Linked DNA regions of Homo sapiens: all the other regions are linked to region 3. The links are contacts of gene promoters, found by promoter capture Hi-C in blood cells and fetal thymus (Javierre and others, 2016). All regions are on one chromosome and are shown on one strand. Each heading gives the region's core, a stretch centred on a gene start or on the middle of the fragment in contact. The rest is flanking DNA. Distances are from core to core; before and after follow the strand shown.

Evidence for each region. Contacts are between HindIII fragments. The CHiCAGO score rates a contact against its expected background, and 5 or more counts as called.
Region 1: a fragment that was not itself captured here is called in contact with the fragment with the promoter of RGMA in region 3 in 2 of 17 cell types (M2 macrophages and M0 macrophages); the score reaches 5.9 in M2 macrophages.
Region 2: a contact is called between a fragment that was not itself captured here and the fragment with the promoter of RGMA in region 3, in 10 of 17 cell types (M2 macrophages, neutrophils, M0 macrophages and 7 more). The highest score is 9.4, in M2 macrophages.
Region 4: a contact is called between a fragment that was not itself captured here and the fragment with the promoter of RGMA in region 3, in 1 of 17 cell types (erythroblasts). The highest score is 5.4, in erythroblasts.

Annotation. Positions count from the first base shown.
Region 1 is chr15:94,089,310-94,092,338 of GRCh38, reverse strand. The region is part of intron 1 of LINC01581 (long intergenic non-protein coding RNA 1581); the gene reads left to right. All of the region lies in intron 1 of LOC105369203 (a long non-coding RNA gene), which reads left to right. Among named protein-coding and RNA genes, the nearest start is that of LINC01581, 17 kb to the left of the region's middle. The HindIII fragment of the contact is 2,179 bases long and covers 178-2,356 here.
Region 2 is chr15:94,122,042-94,124,961 of GRCh38, reverse strand. No RefSeq gene overlaps it. Among named protein-coding and RNA genes, the nearest start is that of LINC01581, 16 kb to the right of the region's middle. The HindIII fragment of the contact is 1,934 bases long and covers 617-2,550 here.
Region 3 is chr15:93,087,896-93,091,035 of GRCh38, reverse strand. RGMA (repulsive guidance molecule BMP co-receptor a) reads left to right here and starts at 1,825. Exons shown (of 4, transcript NM_020211.3): 1 at 1,825-2,117. The coding sequence starts at 2,104. LOC101927025 (a long non-coding RNA gene) reads right to left here and starts at 1,822. Exons shown (of 5, transcript XR_007064769.1): 1 at 1,759-1,822. The HindIII fragment of the contact is 10,450 bases long and covers 1-3,140 here.
Region 4 is chr15:94,141,275-94,144,507 of GRCh38, reverse strand. No RefSeq gene overlaps it. Among named protein-coding and RNA genes, the nearest start is that of LINC01581, 35 kb to the right of the region's middle. The HindIII fragment of the contact is 3,948 bases long and covers 1-3,233 here.

The DNA.
Region 1 (3,029 bases), core at 18-2,517, 1.0 Mb before region 3:
GAATAGATGCTTGTAATATGTAGTATAAGGGGAAGAAGGATGAAGTACAACATATTCTTTCAGTATTATAAAAACACAAGAGAAAAAGAGAGAATAAGACCAAACCATAAATACCAACATGAGGAACAACTACTAACACGCTAAATTACCTCCAAGTGTCAGGATTGAGGGTAAGCTTTCAATTTATTTTTAGTTAACATGTACCTGTTTTCTAAATTTCTAACTAGACATGTTTCCTTTTAAAGAAAAGAGTTCTTGTGAGCACTTCTAATGGTTTTCCTCTGCCTTCCATTTTCATCAGATTGATGACATCACATTCTCCTTCTCGTTGTCTTTTGTAGCTCCTTTCAATTTACTAGCTCCCAGCACACCCAGTCAGCAAACATTCATTGAACTCTTTGTAATCTGTGTATGCAAGTAATGGAGCTATGTTCAGATGATGTATAGGGAAATTAGACATAATCTCAAACTTCAAGGGGTTCACTATTCATGCCATGGTGCGGACTAATAGTTAAACATAGCTCTTCACTGAGTGCTCATGGAAGAGACCGTATGCTTAGAGTACAGGGCAAGGGTCTGGGTGTGTCAGTAAGCAGGAATCAGAGACTTGCTTTTTTAGAATCGTGCCTAAAATGAAAAGGAACACACGCAGAGTCCTCCTATGCAGGGTCTCCATGGTATACTATAGGGACAATGGGGTATCTGTGCATCCACCTTAGAGAAAATGCTTTACTCGCTTTAGCGTGATGGAATCTTTTGCTTAAATGGCACTGTGATATTGTTGGCTGTTACCAGAGTTTTGCCGTGTGGTCCTACTGCTGATCTTTGCCTTTTTGGGGGAGGAAGAGCTGTTTTCACCACAGCTTGGCCCCATCAAATTAAAGGGAAATAAACATATGTATAGAATGAACCCAGAAGAGGATTTGTGAGTTCTTAATTTTAGAAATACATACTTTGTAGGATAGAGTTAGTAAAAACATAAAAAGGAGAGAATTCATTTTAAACAGTCAGAATTATTTCTTGCACTTTAAAGCACAAATGTAACCCTTTAACAGTCTTATGAGATGTCATATAATCTGTTTCAGATTTAATTAAAACATAAAGTGATATATCTTTTTGATAATGCTACAAGTTACCTTTCCCCACAATAATTTCAGTCTTTACTTTTCTGATCATGCTAATATAGTAAACCCCTGAAATGTCTACTCCATTTTTAAGTTTGGGTTGATTTCTTATCAATGCTTGGCAAATACCTCTTTTCTATTGCCTGCTTTGCTGTGAGACCAACCTTGAAGAACATGTAGATCTTTCTATGAAAGTGGTTGATCAGAATTCTGCATCTTTGTAAGTTCACTTGTTTCACCTTTATACCATATGCAGATTGCTATTAAAAGATGTTAATAAATTTGGTGACTGTTGGATGTGCTTTCTGGTTGATGTGAAAAATAATACTGTTAAGGAATGTGAACATTCATCGGTGAGTGTTTATTAAAGTCTCAGGCCTACCAAGCCTTTAGCTTAAGAGGTCAATCTTGGCTGCAAAAGCTGAAGAGAATCCAATTTACTTATAACTAACAATATTTTATTATTGCATCAGTATAACAGGTATTAGGAAACTGGCATGCTCACATGCTACACAGTATTTTGTGCTTTAAGAATCTCTGACATGGTTTTCTTATTTTCATCATTTTTTTGGTGTCTAGAAAGATGTGAATGTGTGCTTTTTGCTGCAAACTTAAGGTGTGTTTAACTGAGCTATCTTTCTTAAAATAGAAGGTGGCCATTTTCCTTCATTTAGTGTTTTGTAGTATACAAACAGTTTCCTGGACTGCTAGCCCTCGAAATGTTACATTTGACAGAAGCCAAAAGAACATGCTCTGAAACAATATCCAGGTAATTGGGCACTTACATTTGAAATACACAAGCACAGCTATGATGGTCATGGTGAGGAAGGATAACATGCTATTAAAGGTGACAGGTGCTGGGGCCACACTTGGGTCCAAGTCTTATTTCTCTCACGACTGGCTATGTACTTGGGGAAAAATCCTTTATCCTCTGCAAGAGTCCATTTTCTCATCAGTGACATAGAGATTATGAATATTATCTCACTGTGATTGTGAAGATTAAATGATATGCCTATATATAATGCTTGTAGCCTAGAGCCAGGCACATTGTCAACAGCCTTGATAACAGCTGGCAAATATTGTTTTATAAAGGAAACTGTGTAGTAAGTAGCTCCGCAGCTCTATCTTATTTTATTCTGGTTCTGCCCCTTACAAGTTTGTATGCTTTGGGGCATGTCACTTCACCTTATTGCTCTTTAATTTTTTGTTAAAAAGATGTAGATACCTAAGCTTAACTAGCCTACCTCTGTTTCCAGGTTTACTTGCAAGCTCCCATCAAATCTGGGTGAAAAGTGACTTTCTCAAAAAGATCTAGAGGCTGGGAGCCGAGGTAGACATGGAGACGCATTGACCTGGTTCTGTCCCAGCTGCTCAGCCACCAGCATTGTAGTTACCTGACAGCTGAGGCCTTGCTATTCTCAGGTGTCCCTGGTCAATGACCCAGCAAGGCGGGGATAGCCAGGGGCAGATCCTTTGCAGGTGATTCCCGACCAATGCATGAGGAAAAAGCCTGAAAAGAAGTAGCTATTGTGGGGAAAGGTAACTTGTAGCATTATCAAAAAGATATATCCCTTTATGTTTTAATTAAGTCTGAAACATAGATTATATGATATGTCATAATGATGCAAGGGGCTGTCCAATTCCAGTTCTGCCCCTCAGGAAATTTCAATCTTTGCTTGAAGATGCTTCAAGGCTGGTGGAGACGTGCCCAATACTGTGACAGCCCCACCTGCCCCATCCTGCTTCCATCCTTTTCTTTTCACAGGTATTCTTCCCCAGTAAACCTCTCTCACACCTACTTTCATCTCAGTGTCTGTGTCCTGGAGAACTCCACCTCAGACAGGAGCCAAGAGTAAAATAAATCAAGAATATCCAGCCATCATCAGAATCTGGCAGGGTGACTAG
Region 2 (2,920 bases), core at 334-2,833, 1.0 Mb before region 3:
GGTTTAAAACCTTGCTCTACCACTTTCTAGTTGTGTGTACTTGAGCAATTTTCATAACCTTTATGAGCCTTGCTTTCCTTATCAATAAAGTGGGATCATAATAGTACCTCCCTCAAAGGGTTGTGAAATTAATTAGGGTACTATATATCTATTAATAACTACAGTAATTATCCGGGGGAGAGGGAAGACAGCTTGAGATGTCTGTGTGATTTTGAGCAAGTTATAGATATAGGCTTGCTAGAGCTGAGAAGGAGCCGAGGAAGCTTTTGGTTCAATTTACAGATAATGAAATGAAGTTCAAGAGATAGCCAATGTCACAGAGATTCTTTATACCTGGGTGAAGACCAAGATCATAGTACTGAGCAGGATTCTCTTAATTGCTCAGTACCCATTTTGTTAATAGCCTACCTCTTCTAGAAAAAATGCTTGGGTTTTTTAACTCTACTATGCAAATTAACTTGGTGCAGATTGATACTGTAACTGCCCAGGGGTTTCTTCCTGTCCACTGAATAAAGAAAGACCATGACATTATAGTGGAGAAAGAGTTTAGTAGACAAAAGGCCATCCATGCCACATGGGAGATAGAGTTCGTACTCAAATCACGTTGTTCAAAGCTTGTAGGTTAGGGGTTTTTTAACGGCAGTTTGGGAGAAGGGGTGGGAATGGCCAGGTAACAGGTGCTTACTGCTGATTGATTGGGGCAGAGATGGAATCATAGGGGGTTGATGCTGTCCTCCTGCAGGCTGAATTGCTTCTGGGTGAGGCCACAGGAGTGGGGTTGTCGGTCCAGATGCAGCCATTGGGTCCAGGTGGAGTCGTAGGGGTCAGACATGCAAAAAAACCTGGAAAGAGATCTCAAAAGGCCAATCTACAATAGCGGTGTTATTTGTAGGAGTAATTGAAGGAAGTTGTATATCTTATAACCTCTGAATAATTTCTGCACTTTAGCAGGACCCAGGTTCCTCTCCTTCCCTCAGCCTGGAGGCCTCCTATTAGTTTTACAAAAGAAGTAGAGTTTTGGGCGAGGCCTATTATCATTTAAAATGAAGCCTAAATGTCTTCCAAAGTTAGCTTGGCCCTGTAGCCCAGGAACAGTTCAGGAAAAGGCAAGATGGGGGGTGGGTTAGCTTAGCTTACAGTTATAATTTTCTCACTGATATAAGTTTTGCAAAGGCTGTTTCAATACCCTAAAAATCCACAACCCTTGTCGTGTTCCCTTTCAGAGCCCTTCAGTTGCTCTCTTCAAACTTTCATCTCTTCTTCCCGCCCACCCTGAGCACACAGTTGTACTTCCAGTGTGTATTTCACACACACATACAAAATGCTCAATCCATGAAACCTTTAACTTTATGCCCTTTTCATAAACTATTCTGCACTGGTTTTCCTCTTTGCCTCTTCTCTTTTTGCCTCATTTGCCTTTCTGAACTTTTCATCTCTTTTCCATGAAGGAGGGAGTAGACAATAGGGTCCAATACTGGAGCGAGGATCTAAAAACTAAATATTGGCTGTTGGCTTTTGTGTTCTGGAAGTCTTAGTTTGGTACCCAATTTCTTTATCTTATTTATTCTGCCACCGTCAGAGGTGTTTGAACCAGAGTGACTCCATCTTGAATAGGGGCTGGGTAAAATGAGGCTGAGACCTACCGGGATGCATTCCCAGGTAGTTAGGCAGTCTTAGTCACAGAATGACATAGGAGGTCAACACAAGATATAGGTCACTTTTATCAGACCTTGCTAATAAAACAGTTTGCAGTAAAGAAACCAGCCAAAGCCCACCAAAGCAAAGATGGTGATGAAAGTGACCTCTGGTTATCCTCGCTGCTCATTATATGCTAATTATAATGCATTAGCATGCTAAAAGACACTCCCACCAGTGCCATGGCAGCTTACAAATGCCATGGCAATGTTTGGACCTTACCCTAAATGGTCTTAAAAGGGGAGGAGCCCTCAGTTCCAGAAATTGCCCATCCCTTTCTGGGAAAACTCATGAATAAGCCACCCCTTGTTTAGCATACAATCAATAAATAATCATAAAAATAGCCAGCCAGCAGCCTTCAGAGCTGCTCTGTTTATAGAGTAGCCATTCTTTTATTTCTTTAGTTTCCTAATAAACTTGCTTTCACTTTATGAACTCGCGGAATTCTTTCATGAGCAAGGTCCAAGAACTCTCTCTTGCCGTCTAGATTGGGACCCCTTTCCAGTAACACCACTAACAACTGCTTTTGCTAAATCATGGTGTTACCTCTGCAATCTTACAAACACTTCCTCATCTGAGTAGACTACTATGAAACATTTGATGCTGTTGGCAACCCCTGCTTCTCTAAAGTCCTCTTCCCACTTCATCTATCCTGTTTTCTTCTTACTTCTCTGGCTGCTTGTTTTCCATATCAGCAATAAGGCTGTTTTCTTTTTTATCATTCACGTGTTCACTGGAATAGCACTATTCATTTCCTCCAACAACTTTTCCTTTGCATTCACAACTTGGCTAACCGATACAAGAGACCTAGCCTTTGGCCTACCTCTGCTTTTGACATGCCTTCCTTAGTAAGCTTAATCAATTCATGGAAAAATATGCAGCCATGAAAAGGAACAAGATCATGTCCTTTACTGGGACATGGATGAAGCTGGAAGCTGTTATCCTCAGCAAACTAACACAGGAACAGAAAACCAAACACAACATGTTCTCACTTATAAGAGGGAGCTGAGCAATGAGAACACATGGACACAGAGAGGGGAACAACACTTACTGGGGGCTGTCAGGGGAGGGCAGGGGGTGGGGATGGCATTAGAAAAAGAGCTAATGGATGCCCGGCTTAATACCTAGGTGATGGGTTGATGGGTGCAGCAAACCACCATGGAACACGTTTACCTATGTAACAAACCTGCACATCCTGCACATGTACCCCAGAACTTAAAAAGAA
Region 3 (3,140 bases), core at 576-3,075:
TTATCTAGACAGTGGATTGTTTGTCCCCCACCATGGGAAAACCCTGCTGGTTACTTTCCAAAGGCCTCATTTTAAAAAGACACGTTTCCACTTACAGACCTTTTAAAAATGCCAGGCAATTTGGAAGAACAGTAAGAAATCTACTATCTGCGTGACAGTCATTCAGAGATTCTTGTAGTGTGCCAGGCACCATATTAAGTGCTAGGAATGCAATGATGACTCCAAGGAGTCCTGGTTCCTGCCCTCATGATGCTTATGGTACGGTGGGAGAGGCCAACATGTAGGGAAAGGTCACTCTAATGAGCGCCTAATTACCGAGTGAGCTCAGTGTTAGGAAGGAAAGGCACGGATGTGAGGACTCCCTAGAGGGTGGGGAAGATGTTGGAGCTGAGCTATGAAAGATGAAGAAATTGGTTATTCACTGAATGTCAGGGCACAGAATGTCAGGGCAGGAAGACCACACACACACACACACACACACACACACACACACACACACACACCCTACTATTCATAGATGAGGAAACTGAGGCCCAGCAGAGCTAGATGACTTGCCGAAGGTCAGAGCTAATTCTAGAAACCCATCCCCAATCCCTTCCTGCTAAACCACTTAATTTTATTTATATCCCAGCTATAGATTATACAAATACACTTGACAAATAAAACGGAGAATATTGAGTTAAAACCACATCTCTGAAGACCACACGCATAAATAACGATCGTGTTTTAATGCGGACGATACCTTTTCATTTTGCAAATCCAGAGTTCTCATCATATCAAAATTCAAGACAGTTTGTTCTGTAAGAAGGGGAAGGTCATAACCCTGTCTAGAATGTACTGGCAAATCTCTCTAACCGTGCAGTGCTAATTTGGGCCTGAGCTGTGTAACCAGACCGACTTCACGCTCCAGCTGGGGTTTCAGATCCACACATGGCGATTGGGTGGCTCTTTGCTGTTTCACAGCAAGGGTCCTTCCCTGGGCTCCCGGAGCCTCTGGGGATTTACTGCTCCCGACGTGGCCGTGTTCAAGCCACTGTGTGCATGCGCTTAATGTTGAAAACATTCTTTTGAAAAGCCCAGGAGATTCCACTCGCAATCTGTGCGTGTGCATGTAAAAGCGCAGAGACTGGAAAGAACCGCGGCAGAGCACACCCTGACCGAAGGTTACCGCGGGGGAGCCGCGGCCGTGGGAGAGCCGCGGCCGTGGGAGGGAGTGCGATACGGTCTTTTCACTCTAGACACTCCTGAGTTATGTACAATTCTACGCAAGAATGTATGCGTGTGTTAGCATGTAATACATATGTATTAGTTTTTTCAGGAAGATTCTTAAACAACAACAAAATCTCTATAGAACAAAGGTGCGTCTCCGCAGAGCGCAACAGCATTTGTCTTGGATGTAACCGCCTTCTCCAGAAATCTCAGAGGAACTCCCCTCGACCACCGCCTAACTGAAGGACACCGTGCGCTCCACCGCAACCCTGCGGGCGATTCGGAAAGTTGGAGGCGCCCCGGGGAGTCGCCGCACTTGCCGCCCGCGCCCCCTAACCTGAGCATTCAAGGAGTCTTGACTTGGCCGCTGGCGCACTCCGCACCCACCCAGCCGGTGCTGATGCGGGAGGGTGGGGCCGCGGCGGGGCGGGGCAACGCGAGCCCGCACCCCGCTCCTCCCCGCCCCTCCCTGCCGGCCCCGCCCGCGCGCGCCCCCCGCCCGCGGCCCGGGCGCCCGGCCCGCCCCCTCCCCTCGGCGCGCAAACGAACCTCGCGACGCCGCGCTCGGCGGCGGGCGGGGGCCGGGCGAGGGAGGGGGCTGGTCCCGGCCGCCCCACTCTGCAGTTGTCTCCCGAGCGCTGGCTGCGCCGCCCGAGCCGCTGGGCCGGGGAAGCACTGGCCGTTCGCTCCCGGGCCGGCTCCGCCAGGCGCTCGCAGGCATGCAGCCCGGGAGCAGGAGGCGCTCCCCGGGCCGCTGCTGAGCCGGCCGGGGCGGCGGGGACCAGCGCCAGCGGAGCCCCTCCCACCTTGCCCCGGGGCAGACGAGCGGCGCCCCGACACCCCCTCTTCTCCCGCAGCCCCGCCAGCGCCACCCCCCGCGGGCCGCAGGGGCTCATGCAGCCGCCAAGGTAAGCGCGGGTCGGGAGCCGGGCAGACCCGGCTCTGACATCTCCGAGGCGCCGCCGACACATGCCGGGGCCACGGCGCTGCTTTGGTCTTCCTTAGCCCCGCGTCTCATCTTGCTCCCATCTTGCCCACATTTGGAGCTTTGCTGCGCCTCTATCGCTTTAGCTGTTGGCAGCAGGAAAGTTTTTGTGGTTTGGTGTTTGTTCTTTTTTCCTAAAATACTCTCCCCCGGGCAGCCGCCAGCGCGCGTGGTTGGGCAGACCCGGCACACGTCCCTTACACCGTGTGCGGGCTGGGAGCTCCTTCCCTCAGCCCGGCTCGCGGAGCCCCGGACGGAGCCGGCCACCCGACTGTCCCGCCGTGAACCCCCATTGGCCCGCGCCGCCCGGGCCCCCGCCTCCCGCTCGACGCCCGGCTGCGGAGCTGCCTGGCCATCTCCTGCCCTCGGGGATGTCGGCGCAGTGCACCGCGTGGGCTCGCGTCCCGGCGGCCCTTTGCCTCGGCGCGCCGGCGTACGGGAAGGTGCGGACCTTGGATTGAGGGCCGAGGATGCCCATTGCCAAGCCGCCCCGGCTTTCCTAAGTGGACGGGAGGGCACGGCGACGATTCAGCGCCGGCTCGCGCCGCAGCTCAACCCAGGGTACAAGCCCGGGCATGGGGGACAGGTGTATTCAATGGGAGGGCGGGTGTGGGGGACGCTCGGGTGCAATTCGGGATTGCGTCTTATTAATGTAATTGTATTAGACTTGCTCGGAGGTAGAATCAGTTCTCCCAAATTGAGATTTCTAATGGGAGCCTGTGAGCTGCTATTATGTGGTGTGGTTTTGGGAGGTGTTGGGTTGTATTTATTTTATAAATTGGGTGTCTCGCGGGCGGAGTAGGGGAAGTAGCGCCATCTAGCGGAAGTGGTGAGCTGTGCATTCCTCTTAGGCTGCGAAGTTGTTGGGTGTTCTCAAAGTAGTCTCCCGCACAAGGTGGAGAGGCGGGAACCAGCCCTCGCCTCCAGGAAGGAGGCTACAGAAGCT
Region 4 (3,233 bases), core at 244-2,743, 1.1 Mb before region 3:
TCATGAGAGAATCAGCTCCCATGACCAAAACACATCCATTAGGACCCACCTTTAACATTGGGAACAAAATTTTAACATGAGGTTGGAGGGGAGAAACATCAAAGTATAGCACTTTTGTTGGAAGAGGACAGTAAAACCCATAACCTCTATAATATGTCATCTTGAATTTCAGGTTTCCCATTTGAAGCACTGGAGCAACTGACCAAAATAAAATTTTTAGAAAACCATAGAAAAAACCCACAGGAGATCCAGATAGTCAAGTTAAAATAACTATGATAAAAATGCTTTTAAAAGTGGGAAAATATGACAAGTTTTATAGAGTACAGGATCTGTAAACTGAAACTTTAGAACTGACAACACTGTATCTGACAGTAAGAAATTAATTTATAGGTTTAATAGAAGATTAGACACAACAGAACAGATAATTGGTGAGCTACAAGATAAGTCAGTGCAAAAATATCAAAACTGAAAGACAAAATGACATCAAAAGATGAAAAGAAAACACAAAAGACAAGGCATATGTGCCTAACAGCATGATCTAATTGAAATATAATGGGAGTATCAACTGTGAATAACACTTTTCCAGAAATACAAAATGTATAAAATTTTATCACTGGAAGGACTGCATTATTAGAAATGTTAATGGACCATTCTTCAGGCAGAAGAAAAAAAACACAAGAGAGAAATGTCAATCTACAAAAGTGAATAAAGAACACCAAAAAGTTGTCTATAAATGTAAATATATAAAACTTAAAAATACTTTAATCCTTTAAAAGATAATAGACTGCTTAAATAAGGTAATAGCAATGTAGTGTGGAAGTTTAGAATATATGTGGAAGTACAGTGTATACAAACAATAACAATAAAGTTGAGGGGAAAAATGAAGATACAATGTTATAAGTTTCTTACACTACATGCAAAGGTGTATAATATCACTTGAAGTAAGATGGCGATTAAATAAAAATGTATACTATAAGTCCTAAAAGATCCATCAAAGTAACAAAATAATGAGTCATGGCTAGTAAGTCAAGAAAGGAAATAAAGTGGAACCATAAAAAAAATCATTTAATTCCAGATAAAGCAAAAGAACGGGAATAAGAACACAAATAATAGATGGTTAGAAAACAAATAGCAAGATGGTAGGTTTACGCCTACCATTTATTTATTTATTTATTTATTTATTTATTTATTTATTTATTTGAGACAGAGTCTTGCTCTGTCGCCCAGGCTGGAGTGCAGTGGCATGATCTCGGCTCACTGCAAGCTCCACCTCCCGGGTTCACGCCATTCTCCTGCCTCAACCTCCTGAGTATCTGGGACTACAGGCGCCCGCCACCACGCCTGGCTAATTTTTTGTATATTTAGTAGAGACGGGGTTTCACCATGTTAGCCAGGATGGTCTCGATCTCTTGACCTTGTGATCTGTCCACCTCGGCCCCGCAAAGTTATTATTTTTTTCTTTTTTGAGACGGAATCTTGCTCTGTACCCCAGGCTGGAGTGCAGTGGCGCGATCTTGGCTCACTGCAAGCTCAGCCTCCTGGGTTCACGCCATTCTCCTGCCTCAGCCTCCCAAGTTGCTGGGACTACAGGCGCCCGCCACCATGCCCAGCTAATTTTTTTGTATTTTTAGTAGAGACGGGATTTCACCGTGTTAGCCAGGATGGTCTTGATTTCCTAACCTCGTGATCCACCCGCCTCTGCCTCCCAAAGTGCTGGGATTACAGGCGTGAGCCACTGCGCCAGGCTAAGCCTACCATTTTAACAATTACTTTACATATAAAATGTCTAAATACCTCAATTATAGGTCAGAAGTTGTGAGATGGATAAAATAAGCAAGACTTATCTGTATGCTATTTATAAGAAACGTGCTTTAATTACAAAGACACAAATAGGTTAAAATGATAGAAAAATATATTCCATGCCAACCCTAATAAAAATAATGCTGGAATGACTATACTAATATATGACAAACTGCATTACAGAGCAAAGATATATCCAAAGGGATATACGAAGTCACTTCATAATAATAAAAAGCTCAATTTATCAAGAAGATATAACAATCATGAATGTTTATGCACCTGATAATGGAGTGTCAAAATTCATGAAACAAAAATGGATGAAACTGGAAAGAGAAACAGACAATTACACAATTAGATGTCTCTCTCTCTCTCTCTGTCTCTGTCTCTCTCTCTGTCTCCTCTCTCTAACTCACTATAATGGAAATAAAGAATGCCTATGAAGAGCTCACCAGTAGACTAGGTATAGCTGAGAAAAGAGCCAATATTCTTGAATATAAGTCAAAAGAAATATCCTAAATATAAATGCAAAAACTGAAAAAGAAAGGAAGGATAAAAGAAAGAAGGAATGAAGGGAGGAAGGAAGGAAAGAAGGAAGGCGAGAGAGGGGGAATAACACAGGGAGAGAAACAGAGAAGAAAGGAGAAAGAGAAAGAGAGGAGAGAAGAAAACAATAAAAAATTGTAGAGACAATTTCCAAATGTGCAACGTAAGCACAATTGGAATGCTAGAAAGAAAAAAGAGAAAGCCAGAAGGAAAGAAAGGAGAGAGAATATTTCAGTGATATTGTTATTTGAGTGGTAATGACCAAGAATTTTGAGAGACACAAAATCAGAAATACAGGAAGCTCAGAGAGCACCAGTCACAATAAATACCAAAATAATACAGCTAGGCATATACTATTTAAATTGCAGAAAACCAAAGACAAGAAGAAAATGTAGAAAGAAGCCAGAGGGGGGGAAAATGCCTTATCAGTAGAGGACAAATGTTAAGAATTACAGCTGACTTTTCATTGGAAACCATGCAAGTAAGAAGAGTGGAATAAAATATTTAAAGTGTTGAAAGACAAAAAAAGCCAAAGTGAAAATTTATAGTCATCAGCATTGTCCTTCAAAAGTTAAGAATAAAGAGTTTCTCAGACAAACAAACCTGAGAGAATTTATTGTCATCAGGTCTGCCCTTTAAGAGATGTTCAAAAAGAAGTTCTTCAGGTAGAAAGAAAATAATGTAAGCCAGAAACTGAGATCTACGTAAAGAAAGAAAGAATATCAGAGAAGGAATAAATGTAGATAAAATAACATCTTTTATTTTTCTTGTACTTATTCAAGATAGTAGTGTAAATTAATAAAAGTAGCAAAGTATTGGGTGATTACAGCATATGTATGAGTGAAATGAATGACAGTAATGTCATAGGAATAGGAAGAAAATGGGTACAT